2 separate regions of the Homo sapiens genome follow, and region 2 is linked to region 1. The links are contacts of gene promoters, found by promoter capture Hi-C in human tissues and cell types (Jung and others, 2019). All regions are on one chromosome and are shown on one strand. The core of a region is centred on a gene start or on the middle of the fragment in contact, and the rest is flanking DNA. Distances in the headings are between cores, read along the strand shown.

Region 1 (6,730 bases), core at 2,882-5,381:
CCGGTCAAGGTGAGCTGTGTCTGCCCCCAGCCCCATCACTGCTGCTGACCATGTGTTCTAAAGAGAAGCCAGGAAAAATTCAAAGCTGACAAGTCACAGGTGCTCAGCTGTCTCCGGGTTGAGGGTGGGTGGCACAGATGAGGTGAGAACCAGCCCCTATCTGAAAGGAAAGTCAACCCAGAACATGCAATCTTTTTTTGAGATGGGGGGTCTCGCTGTGTGCCCAGGCTGGTCTCCTCAGCCTCCTGAGTAGCTGGGCCCACAAGTGCATGTCAAAGCATAAGCTCATCAGCCCACTGGCTGTCATAGGTAAGCAGTCAGTGTTAAAATATCACCCTCCTGCCATAGAGAGCATCATCTCCGTTTCCTCCTCCCTGTTTGCTCCATTTCTGGTGGAGGACCACCCGTTCCTAGCCCAGTCCTGGATGCCAGGTGCAGGACAAGGTTAAGAAGCAGCCCCTCTTCTTTTTCTTTTTTTTTTTGAGATAGAGTCTCACTCTGTTGCCCAGGCTGGAGTGCAGTGGCGTGATCTCGGCTCACTGCAACCTCCGCCTCCCAGGTTCAAGCGATTCTTCCACCTCAGCCTCCCGAGTAGCCGGACTTACAGGCACCCGCCATCATGCCCCGTTAATTTTTTTTTTTTTTGAATTTTTGTAGAGACAGGGTTTCACCATGTTGGCCAGGCTAGTCTCGAACTCCTGACCTCAGGTGATCTGCAGAAGCAGCCCCTCTTCTGCCTGCTCCTCCTCCAGCAGGCCCAACGCCACCTTGTCAAATCCTCCCTGTTTGCTCAGCCCATCAACGCTTACTCGGGGCCCTGGGACGCTGCTCCACCGAGCCGTTAGCCTGTAGGCCTGGCCTCAGCCTCAACCCAACCCTGCCCAAGCACCCGGAAAGACCCCAAGGGAGTCCTCCTGGGGATTCCAGAGGTCTGTTGGTGCCCTGAGCTTGTGTCCTCCCATCTACTCCTGTCTAAGGTGGCCTGAGAGAGGGCCTGGAGAAAGCAGGGCCATGACCTGGCAGCATTACCCAGCACCACCACCCCTCCGACTCTTCAGGCCTCTCTGGATGACGCGTCCTCCCGCCCTGCTCTACTCCCTGCTCCCTGCTGAGGCCATGCTGCTCTCCACACAGGGCCTGGAGCTGAATCTGCTCCATCACAGCAGCCCCGGTAGGGAAACCCCTGGGTGGGCACTCAGACCTCTACTGCTTCACAGCAGGGGAGCACAGCGGACCCCTAAGCCAGAGCCAGGGCTCATCAGCCCAAGCAGAAACTGTGTGACAGGAACCCTCTTGGCTGTGATCCTGGCCCTACAATGACATCGCAGGCCAAGCCAAGGCAAGCCATCCCCACCCCCACCTGGAGAAGAAAGGGTAAGTGGGCCCCTGGCCTGGAGGCTGCGAATCCTCTTTTGGATGTAGCAGCAGCTGTGGCCTGGATGATCACTCGGGCCACTCAGCTGACTCGAGCGGTGGACACCTGTTCTCCACATTAGCCCTGGGGCTGCCAGGTCTGGGGCCTCCACTTGCCAATGTGTCTGCTGTCAGTGTTGCCCCACAAAACAAGGGGAATGACCCAGCACACATAGCTGAGTGGTGATACAGTGCTCTGGCACCCCACAGCCATTCGGGCCCTCCAGGGCCAGGCAGGAACTGGCCAGGTAGAGGGGAGAAGTCTAAGGCAGGAGCACAGGCTATGGGGGGAACGCGCCCCACTCTCCCACAAAGGGGCTGCCCCACAGGTCCACAGGACACCATGGCAACCATCTCAGGAGAAAACCACAGCCCCTCAGGTTTTCTGCCACTATATGAAGTCAAGTCTCTCATCATCCAGGCTGGGACAAAGGGATCCCTAAAAGGACAAAAGGAGCTTCCTACCTTTGGAATCCCTTCTCCAATGTGCCCGCACTCCCTTCCCTGTGTGCGATCGCACCAAGAACCAATAGCACACAGTTACAGGGCACCTCGGAGCTCCAATTTCTCATCCTGTGACCCAAAGGAGTTATTTCTGCAGTTCTTAAAAATAAACTGGTGGCCGAGCGCGGTGGCTCATGCCTGTAATCCCAGCACGTTGGGAGGCCAGGGCAAGCAGATCACCTGAGGTCAGGAGTTTGAGACCAGCCTGACCAACATGGTGAAACTCCGTCTCTACTAAAAATACAAAATTAGCTGGGCATGGTGGCGCATGCCTGTAATCCAAGCTACTTGGGAGGCCAAGACAGGAGAATCGCTTGTACTTGGGAGGCAGAGGGTGCAGTGAGCTGAGATTGCACCATTGCACTCCAACCTGGGCAACAAAAGCGAAACTCCGTCTCAAAAAAATAAAAATAAAGTAAAATAAACTGGTGGCAGATTTTTCTCCCAGCACCTTAGTCATGTAAGTTACCAGATACAGAATGCCAAAAGCAAACCAAAAATCTGTTAGCTTAATTCAGCAACAGTCAGCAAGCCCCAGTCTCATCTGTGACCACGCAGGTCCAGGTTGCCTGGCCCAACAGCTGCACATGGTGTTCCGGGTCTCTAGGCTGGTCCGGTTTCCTCCAAAGCAGCCCTGACTCCAGTTCCTGCCCCTACGCGAACAGACGCCCTTCCTGTTCCACTGCAGGCCCAACTCTCCATTCAGCACATAGGAGTGAACAAGGAGGGCCACACATTTTAGCGGCGATTCCAACGCCTTAGGTAGAGCCAAGGCATCAAGGAGAATAAAACCGAACAGCTAAGATGTAAGAAAACCCAGCGGCCAGAGTCAAAAAAGTGGGGAGGGGTAGAGAATGCAAGTCCCCAGGCCCCAGGTTGGCTGACCCCACCCTCCTTCCCCGGCAAGCCCTTTGGCACCAGCAGCTGGTCCTCATTCCAGGCTAAGGGCTCGCCGTAGTGGCTCCCTCCGAGGCTGTCCCACCAGACGCTTAAAGGTGGCTCCATAGTGGAAACGACTTCTTTAAAGAAGAAAGATGAGTCTCATGTTCGGGCAACCGCCCGTCGCAGGGGTTAAACGGTCCTGACAGAGCAGCCTTTTCACCCTCCCCTGGGCCAAAGCACACACGTGTTCTCTGCTTTCCCTGCACACCGGCCACTCAGATCTGCTTCTCCACAATCTCAGCCCCTCAGCGCCCGCCAGGGTCTCCCCTACAGCCCCTGCCCAGCCCAACACGGCCAGAATGACCCGCGGCCCAGGCCGAGGCCGCAGGGTGGCCCCCGACCTTCCACTGCCTTCGGATGCTGACATGAGGTTCCCGCCCCGCGCTGGGGGCAGCGCCCCGTCCCTGCGCCGGTGTCTCTTCACGCACCTCCACCGCCCTCGCACAGGCGGAGCCACCAGGGGCTCGGTTTCTAGAGGCCTGCGAGCTTCTGCCACGCAAAACGCCACAGGCACACGGCAGAGCCCCGGGGCCGCCCTGCGCCCACCTCAGGACGGCTCCGCTGGTCGCACGACGCGCGCTCCTTCCCTCACCCCACTGCCCGCTCCGGCGTGGCGCTCCCCTCTGAACCCCCAGGAGACTCTGGAGCCCCTCGGTGAGAGGCCGCTAGTCTTCCTGACCTGCACCCTTCTCACCTGGTTGGCAAATCCCCGGAGGTGAGCCATGGCCGCGCCGCCTCAGACCCTCCGCCAGCAGCCCCAGGAGGCGTCTGGATCCCGCGGAGAGGCGCGGAGCCGGCTAGCTCGCCCCTGCGGCGTCAGTCCACTGCGAGGGACACCAGGGGCGCTCGGTGCCCAGTTCAGTCATCTGAGACCGACCTCCGGGGCGGCGGGCTCCATGGGTGGGGGGGGGCCCAGGAGACCCCCCAGGCCGCCGGGGCCCCGCCACGCCCGGGCCTAACGCCCAGGCTCCCGGGGGCTCGCCGCCCCTCCCGTCGCCGCCCCCACCTCTTCCAAGGCAGCTTCCTCCCGGTGCCCCCGCCCCGGTGTCCCCGCCACCGAGCCCCGCCCCGGGCCCCTCCCTCTGCCCCCTCCCCAATCGCCGCAAGCGCCCCGCCCGGCAGCGCGCCCACCTCCGCGGGGCTCCATCCCGGCCTCCCCCGGCCCGCTCTGCAGCGCCCGCGAAGGCTCCCACCCGCAGCCTCTGTTCGCCCGGGGACCCCGGGCCTCCCAGCCCGCGAAGCAACGGTGGTGGCGGCAGCGACCGGAGAAAGCCCGGAGGCGACGGCGAGGGCGGTGCTCGGCGTCGCGGCCCGCGCACGGCTCTCTGGGACCCCGAGTCCCACCGCCCACTCCGGGCCCGGAAGCCTGCTGGCGTTGGACTACAAGTCCCGGCAGGCTGCGCGAGAGGGGGCCGGGGCTCGCATGCGCGCCGCGAGGCTCTCTGGGACCCCTAGTCCTGCTCCCGAAAGGTTTGGACTGCGTCTCCCGGCAGGCCGCGCGCCTGGGCGGGCGGGGCACGTGGTCGTTGTCGCGTCGCGCCCTCCCTGCCTCGCCCTCGCGGGTCTTCTGCGTTTGCTGGCGCCTGCCAGGCGTCGTCTCCGACGTTACGGCGGCCGCGCGGCCCTCTCCCTTGGGCTCTGCCCTGCGCAGCCCTGGTTCGAGCGGGCCAGTGAGGCCCGGCGCCCTCCCCGCCTCGCCACGAGGATCCACCGCGGCCGCCCAGGCTTCTAGCCTTGTCGTCACGGCACGGAGATAAGCCCGCGCTGGCCACATCGCGAAGCCCCTGTTCGTACTGAGACCCCGCCCGGGATCACGCGCACAGGCCAGGGCGCACCAGGCCTTGGAGAAGCTACCGGCACAGCCCATTCCTTGGGCGAGTTGCTTCGCCTCTCCTGCCTCAGTTTCCTTACCTGTCAAGGGGTGGTCATAGGACGTCCTTGGTCACACCGTTGTGGGACCCACCTGGGCTAGAGCGCGGGACGCGCCCAGGACAGTGACTGCTGCTGGAAGCCGTCATGGCACTCCCCAGGGTCCGGGAGGGACTTGCAGATCCCAAGGCTACCTGGTGCGTCCCCGTGCCCCGTGGGCCGCCAGGTCATAGTGCCCCCTGTGTGCATTCCCCTAGTGCACCGCAGGGATCCCCACCTGTCCGGTGAGGAAGATTTGTCCCTCCTGCATACTGTGTCCACCCTTACAGGCCCTCACTCTCCATGATGGCTCAGCACAGGTGACTATCCTGACCTCCTCACATCCCTCCTTCTTCGAGAGGGTTCTGGCGTTTCTCTCTGCTCCCTGGTGCGTGTCTTCTCATGGTGCACTGCCGAGTCCTTTAAGAAGCTATGCTTCCCTGTCATGCGTCCAGGACAGCCCCTTGAACCCCTCCTGGGTCCGCATCTCTCATCACCCCTGCTTCTTTACGTACTGACTTGGCTTTGTTTGTGCTTTGACTCCCCAGGAGAAAGTGGGCTTCCTGCAAGCGGAGCTGTGCCCAGGACCATGCCAGCCCACGGCAGGCGCTCAGTAATGTTTGTTGAATGAATGTGTAAATGCATGAAGATAATATATGTATTTAATGCATGTAAATAGATGCCTGCTGCATCTCTGGCCTTCGTGTGGTCAGTAATCGCTGCACTTTTCCGAAGTGCCTAGAAGAGGCTGGGAGCAGTGGCTCACACCTGTAATCCCAGCACTTTGGGAGGCTGAGGCAGGCAGATCACTTGAGGTTGGGAGTTCGGGGCCAGCCTAGCCAACATGGTGAAACTTCATCTCTACTAAAAATACAAAAATTAGCCAGGCATGGTAGTGCGTGCCTGTAGTCCCAGCTACTAGGGAGGCTGAGTCAGGAGAATCGCTTGAACCTGGGAGTTGGAGGTTGCTGTGAGTCAAGATCATGCCACAGTACTCCAGCCTGGGAGACCGAGCAAGGCTCTGCCTCAAAAAACAAATTAATAAAAGTGCCTAGAAGAGTTTTTCAGCCTTTGCCTGCTTTTGGCCAATTGTTAACCCTTTGCTCCTGGCTGCTGTCTTGCTAAGCTGCCGTCCGGACGTGATCATCACCATGTCTTTTCCTGCATTGACCTTCCAGGCCCTTCATCCCGTTTCTCTTGTTTTCCATTTCTTTTTTGTTGTTGTATACTTCTGTTATTCTTCGGGGTTTTTGTTTGTTTGTGTGTTTGTTTTGAGACGGAGTCTCACTCTGTCTCCCAGGCTGGAGTGCAGTGGTGCGATCTTGGCTCACTGTAACCTCCGCTTCCCAGGTTCAAGCGATTCTCCTGCCTCAGCGTCCTGAGTAGCTGGGATTATAGGCGTGCGCCACCACCCCCGGCTAATTTTTGTATTTTGAGTAGAGACGGGGTTTCATCATGTTGGTCATGTTGGTCAGGCTAGTCTCAAACTCCTGACCTCGTGATCTGCCCACCTCTGCCTCCCAAAGTGCTGGGATTACAGGCATGAGCCACCACGCTCGGCCTTATTCTTCGGTTTTATCTTTCAACTTTCATATAAAAATTTTCTTTTCAGTGATTCTTTCTTTTTTTTTCCCAGATAAGGTCTTACTCTGCCACCCAGGCTGGAATGCAGTGCGGCAATTTTGGCTTACTGCAACCTCGACCTCCCAGGCTCAAGCAGTTCTCCCACCTCAGCTCCCCATGTAGCTGGGTCCACAGGCACATGTCACCACACCCAGCTAATTTTTGTGGAGACGGGGTCTCCCCATGCTGTCCAGGCTGTTCTCAAACTCCTGAGCTCAAGTGATCCTTCCGCCTCAGCCTTCCAAAGTGCTTTCAGAGTACAGGTGTGAGCCACTGAGCCTGGTCTCTATTTTTCACCTCCAAGAAATTTTAGTTTTTTCTCTGGGCACTCACTTTCTTC
Region 2 (6,730 bases), core at 2,862-5,361, 660 kb before region 1:
AGCTGAAGCCCCATCAGTGCAGCCACATAGGTGCCTGGGTCCAGCTGGCCTCATCTCCTCCAGGCCAGCCTCCCCAGCTGCTCTTCTCCGTTTACAGGAGGGACCCTTGGATAGGTCACTCCCTGTTCCATGCCTCTGTTTCCTCATCTGTAAACGGGAAATAACACAGAATTTCCTCAAGGGGCTGCAAGGACTGGCTGAGTTCTGTAAAATGTGGAGGACAGGGCACACCGATGGCTCATTCCCATGACTCCTGGGCTTCTAGGATGGACAGGAATCCAGCTTCCCAGCTGGGCTTCTGGTTTCGGCCCTTCCCTGATGGATCTGGCATGGGAGGGCCCACTTCCTTCCAGGATCTGCCTGTGGCCTGTGCTCCTGGTCGGGCCAGCAAGAATGAACTTATTCTCAGGGTCCCCCCATCTCCCAGCCTCCTTGCAGCCTCCTGGGCCACATCTGCAGTCTCAGGGACTCGAAGCCCTGCGGGGAGAGGTCAGCGGGAGGCCTGTGACCTCAGAACACCTCTCCACCCACAGGCACCAGATCTGGGGGCAGCCCAGGAGGGGCTAGGACATTCCTAGGGCCCTGAGGGATGTGGGCTGGGAGCTGGCCCTCAGGGCTACCAGGTGAAGGTCTGGGCTGGGCTTTGGGGAAAGGAATCCGGGGGTCTGTTCTGAGGAAGGGAGGTCTTTTGCCTGGGGTGACCCTTCATAGAGCACTCTCTCCTGTCCCACCAGGAATTAGGTGAGGCCTTAGGCTTCAAGCCTACTGGGGTTGTAAGGGAGAATGAAAATCTTTCCTTTCACCCTCTGAAGTTTCCCTGAAAAAATGAACCGACAGAAAGCAGATTAACAGGAGAAAAGGCATACAAATTTATTAATGTACACAGGAGTCAGGGAAATAGAACTCAAAGAGGCTGGGCACGGTGGCTCATGCCTGTAATCCTAGCACTTTGGGAGGCTGAGGTGGGTGGATGGCTTAAGCTCAGGAGTTTGAGACCAGCCTGGGTGAAACCCCATCTCTACCAAAAAAAAAAAAAAAAAATTAGCTGGGCTTGGTGGCACGTGCCTGTGGTCCCAGCTACTTGGGAGGCTGAAGTGGGAGGATCACTTGAGCCTGGGGGTTGGCGGCTACAGTGAGCTTAGATGGCGCCACTACACTCCAGCCTGGGTGATAGAGCAAGACCCCCTCTCAAAAAAAAAAAAAAGAACTCAAAGAAAGGCAGGATAGTTGCTGTTTTTATACCACCTTGAGATTTGTAAACCAAGAATAAAGTCCTAAGCCCTTTCAACCAACTGACTAGACCCCGTTATATATATAAAGTTTGGTGCCGCAAAAGGAATAGCACTCGAATATAAAATTTTATTTTTAATTCTCAGCAAGGTAAGTTACTGCTATAGAAGGATGTACCCTTAGAGATGGAGCAATGGTGAGCGCACACCTGGACAAGGGAGGGGAAGCGGGTCTTAACCCTGAAGGATGTGGCCCCTGCTGCTGTGTGGTTCCGCTACTGGCTAGGGTTAGACCGCACAGGCTAAACTAATTCTGACCGGCTAATTTAAAAGGAGTGATGGGGTGAGTGCTTTGGCGGGAAAAATGGTTATGACAGAGCAGGTAATCAGAATGAGTCGGGGGGAGCAGGTGATCGGAATGAGTCAGGGTGGAATAGGTAATCAGAATGAGTCGGGGGGAGCAGGTGATCGGAATGAGTCTGGGTGAAGTAGGTAATCAGAATGAGTCGGGGGAGCAGGTGATCGGAATGAGTCAGGGGGAGCAGGTAATCAGAATGAGTCGGGGGAGCAGGTGATCGGAATGAGTCTGGGTGAAGTAGGTAATCAGAATGAGTCGGGGGAGCAGGTGATCGGAATGAGTCAGGGTGGAGTAGGTAATCAGAATGAGTCGGGGGGAGCAGGTGATCGGAATGAGTCTGGGTGAAGTAGGTAATCAGAATGAGTCGGGGGAGCAGGTAATCAGAATGAGTCAGGGTGGAGTAGGTAATCAGAATGAGTCGGGGGGAGCAGGTGATCGGAATGAGTCTGGGTGAAGTAGGTAATCAGAATGAGTCGGGGGAGCAGGTGATTGGAATGAGTCAGGGGGAGCAGGTGATCGGAATGAGTCAGGGGGAGCAGGTGATCGGAATGAGTCTGGGTGAAGTAGGTAATCAGAATGAGTCGGGGGAGCAGGTGATTGGAATGAGTCAGGGGGAGCAGGTGATCGGAATGAGTCAGGGGGAGCAGGTAATCAGAATGAGTCGGGGGAGCAGGTGATCGGAATGAGTCTGGGTGAAGTAGGTAATCAGAATGAGTCGGGGGAGCAGGTGATCGGAATGAGTCAGGGTGGAGTAGGTAATCAGAATGAGTCGGGGGGAGCAGGTGATCGGAATGAGTCTGGGTGAAGTAGGTAATCAGAATGAGTCGGGGGAGCAGGTGATTGGAATGAGTCAGGGGGAGCAGGTGATCGGAATGAGTCGGGGGGAGCAGGTGATCGGAATGAGTCTGGGTGAAGTAGGTAATCAGAATGAGTCGGGGGAGCAGGTGATGGGAATGAGTCAGGGGGAGCAGGTGATCGGAATGAGTCTGGGTGAAGTAGGTAATTGAAAATGTTGCTTTATGAGGAAGTTAAGTTTAACAGTAGAAGGCAAAGAATTGAACATACTGACATATTGATTCTTTGACTAGAAATTTAGAACTTATATCTAACAACCCCCTCTTGACCAAGGAGACTCCACTGAAACCTGAAAAGCTGAATTCCCAGCCATGACAGGAAGTGGGGTCAGACATACCTCCTTATTCTCCCTCCGTTTTGGGATTTAGGCACAGCTGAGCAGCACTAACCTTAAAGTAGAGATCATGAGAGTGATAGAGCAGACTCCTTGTGGCAATAAGACACCAAATTCCAGCTTGACTCTGGTGTAACCTCACACGACAGATGGCAGACCCTGAAGGAAATAAAAGTATTTTACTCCAAACTATATTTCTTTGACATATTTTGAGATGGCCCTGCAAAGCCATCTTTTGTGGGGGAAATTTGCATCTGTAGAGAATCTCCATTAATGCAGCCAGGCCTTCCTTTCTAGTCCTTTCCCGGATCTAAGGGAGATTAAATGAGGGTCTGACACTTTCAAAGTCTGAAAACAGACATTCACCTTCTATTCTCTCTGAAGACTGCGACCTGGGAGGCTTCAACTGCATAACAAGAACCGTGCTCTCCACAACCCCCTTATCTTAACCCAAGCCTTTCTTTCTACTGACTTCAAGTCTTTAAACAAAGTCTAGCTCTTTCAACCAATTGTCAATCAGAAAATCTTTGAATCCATCTGTGACCTGTAAGCACCCCAACTTGGAGATGTCCCATCTCTTTAGGCAATTTACACCTTCCATGTATTGATTTATGTCTTTGCCTGTAACGTCTGTCTCCCTAAAATGTATAAAACCGAGCGGTGACCCGACTCCCTGGGCACACTTTCTCAGGAACTCTTGAGACTGTTCCCCGGGCCATGGTCACTCATATTGGCTCAGAAGAAACCTCTTTAAATATTTTATGGAGTTTGGTTTTTCTTTGAACAGGTTACAGAAAGAATGGAGGCTCAAGCACGGCCAAAAACAGATCCCAGTGGCATGGCAGGTTTTGGGAGGGGGAGAAGAGGAGGCCAGGCTCACCAGGTTAGGGGACCTCACAGCTAGCAAATGGTAAATGCTGCTTTTAGCCTTTAAGGGTGACAGACTGATATGGTTTGGCTCTGTGTCCCCACTCAAATCTTACCTTGAATTTTAATAACCACCACATGTCAAGGGTGGAACCAAGTGCAGATAATTGAATCACAGGAGTGGTTTCTGCAATGCTGTTCTCCTGATAGTGAGTGGGTTCTCACAAGATCTGATGATTTTATAAGGGGCTTCACTTGGCATTCCTTCTCCTTCCTGCCATCATGTGAAGAAGGACATGTTTGCTTCCCCTTCCACCATGATTGTAAATTTCCTGAGGCCTCCCCAGCCCTGTGGAACTGTAAATCAATTAAACCTCCTTCCTTTGTAAATTACCCAGTCTCAGGCAGTTCTTTAATGCAGCATGGGAAGGGAGTAATATCGTAAACTCTTACCACAGAGAGTGGGGTGCTTCTGTAAAGATACCCAAAAATGTGGAAACAACTTTGGAACTGGGTAACAGGCAGAGTTTGGAACAGTTTGGAGGGCTCAGAAGAAGACAGGAAAATATGGGAAAGTTTGGAACTTCCTAGAGACTTGGAGGGTTCAGAAGACAGAAAGATGTGGGAAAGTTTGGAACTTCCTGGAGAATTATTGAATGGCTTTGACCAAAATGCCAATAGTGATATGGACAACGAAGTCCAGGCTGAGGTGATCTCAGATGGAGATGGGGAACTTGTTGGGAATGGGAATAGAGGTTACTCTTGCTGTGCAAAGAGACTGGGGGCATTTTGACCCTGCCCTAGAGATCTATGGAAAGCTGAACTTGAGAGAGATGATTTAGTGTATCTGGTGGAAGAAATTTCTAAGTGGCAAACTGTTCAAGAGGAAGCAGAGCATAAAAGTTTGAAAAATTTGCAGCCTGATGATGCAATGGAAAAGAAAACCCATTTTCTGGGGAGAAATTCAAGCCAGCTTCAGAAATTTGCATAAGTAATGAAGAGCTGAGTGTTAATCACCAAGACAATGAGGAAAATGTCTCCAGAGCATGTCAGAGACCTTCACAGCAGCCCCTTCCATCAAGGGCCCAGAGGCCTAGGAGGGAAAAAGGGTTTCCTGAGTTGGGTCCAGGGCCCCCCTGCTGTGTGCAGCCTTGGAACTTAGTGCCCTTCGTCCCAGCCACTCCAGCCATGGCTAAAAGGAGCCAACATACAGCTCAGGCCATTGCTTCAGAGGGTGCAAGCCCTAAACCTTGGCAGCTTCCATGTGCTAATGGGCTTGTGGGTGCCCAGAAGTCAAGAATTGAGGTTTGGGGAGCTCCCAATCCCTAGATTTCAGAGGATGTATGGAATTTCCAGAATGTCCAGACAGAAGTTTGCTGTAGGGCAGAGCCCTCATGGAGAACCTCTACTAGGGCAGTACAGAAGGGACTGTGGGGTCAGAGCCCCCACACAGAGTCCCCACTGGGGCACTGCCTAGTGGAGCTGTGAGAATAAGGCCACCATCTTCCAAACTCCAGAATGGTAGATCCACCGACACCTTGCGCTGTACATCTGGAAAAGCTGCAGACACTCCATAGCCAGCCCATGAGAGCAGCCAGGTGGGGGGAGGGGAGGTGTTGTACCCTGCAAAGCCACAGGGGCAGAGTTGCCCAAGGCCATGGGAGACCACCTCTTGCATAAGCATGACCTGGATGTGAAACATGGAGTCAAAGGAGATCATTCTGGAACTTTAAGGTTTAATGACTGCCCTGTTGGATTTCAGACTTGCATGGGGCCTGTAGCCCCTTTGTTTTGGTCAATTTCTCCCTTTTGGAATGGGTGTATTTACCCAATTCCTGTACCCTCATTGTATCTAGGAAGTAACTAACAAGCTTTTGATTTTACAAGCTCATAGACAGAAGGGAATTGCCTTGTCTCACATGAGACTTTGGACTTGGACTTTTGTGTTAATGCTGAAATGAGCTAAGACTTTGGGGGACTATTGGGAGGGCATGATTGTGTTTGAAATGTAAGGATACGAGATTTGGGAGGGGCCGGGGTGGAATGATATGGTTTGGCTCTGTGTCCCCACCCAAATCTCACCTTGAATTGTAATAATCCCCATGTGTCAAGGGCAGAACCAGGTGGAGGTAACTGAATCATGGGGGCAATTTCTGCCATGCTTTTCTCATGATAGTGAGTGAGTTTTCATGGGATGTGATGGTTTTATAAGGGGCTTCCTCATTTGCTTGGCACTCTTTCTCCTTCCTGCCTCCATGTGAAGAAGGATGTCTTTGCTTCCCCTTCTGCCATGATTGTAAGTTTCCTGAGGCCTCCCCAGCCCTGCATAACTGTGAGTCAATTAAACCTCCTTCCTTTAAAAAATTACCCAGTCTCAGGCAGTTCTTTATGATAGCGTGAGAACAGGCTAATACAGACTCTCAGCTTATCTTTCCTAAATACAGAAAAATGAGGGCCTCAGCAAAAGCCTGGCTGCATCAATGCAGGTTTTCTATACAGATGCAAATTTCCCCACAAAAGAAAGCTTTGCAGGGCTGCTTCTGTTTTCAGGCCCTCTGAACAGCCATCTCAAAATATGTCAAAGAAGTTTATTTGTGGGGGATATATTTTGGTTTCCTTTCTGGTGGAAGCTCAGATCCTGGGGGAAGGTGAGCCTCCAGGCCTGCCTCCTTCTCTCCCTCTCCGCTGCCCAGAAACTCCTGGGACAGGGAGTCTGGACCCTGGTGAGAGAATCTGAGAGAGTGGGCTGGCCAGGCAGCCAGGGCAGGGCAGCCACACAGCCCTGCAGAGAGCACTGGCCGGACCTGTGGCACAGCTGGCCTCCTGCCAGGAGCTGCCCGTGTGCCAGGCACCATGGCCAATCCCTTCCCTGTCAACCCTAAATAAAGAGATTCAGAAAACAGGATGAAATGGACAGTTAACTTGAGCACAGAGCATAAGGACAGCCACCTGGGAGCACAGACTCCAAAGAGTGGGAGTTGGTGCTCCGAAGTTCTGGGGGCTATTTGTATAGATAAGGTTTGGGAAGCTTAACAGGTGATATGGTTTGGCTGTGTCCCCACCCAAATCTCATCTTGAATTGTAGTT

Evidence for each region. Contacts are between HindIII fragments. The study calls those that stand out against the background at their distance.
Region 2: a fragment that was not itself captured here is called in contact with the fragment with the promoter of STK25 in region 1 in 1 of the 25 tissues and cell types used here (dorsolateral prefrontal cortex).

What each region holds. Positions count from the first base shown.
Region 1 is chr2:241,504,453-241,511,182 of GRCh38, forward strand. It overlaps STK25 (serine/threonine kinase 25), which reads right to left and starts at 4,132. Exons shown (of 12, transcript NM_001271977.2): 1 at 3,991-4,132; 2 at 3,554-3,683. The coding sequence starts at 3,583. It overlaps LOC107985788 (a long non-coding RNA gene), which reads left to right and starts at 4,420. Exons shown (of 2, transcript XR_001739177.2): 1 at 4,420-4,645; 2 at 4,986-5,443. RefSeq lists enhancers at 1,265-1,801, 2,957-3,006 and silencers at 3,437-3,486, 3,767-4,536. The HindIII fragment of the contact is 21,130 bases long and covers 1-6,730 here.
Region 2 is chr2:240,840,951-240,847,680 of GRCh38, forward strand. No RefSeq gene overlaps it. Among named protein-coding and RNA genes, the nearest start is that of KIF1A, 24 kb to the left of the region's middle. The HindIII fragment of the contact is 3,458 bases long and covers 2,383-5,840 here.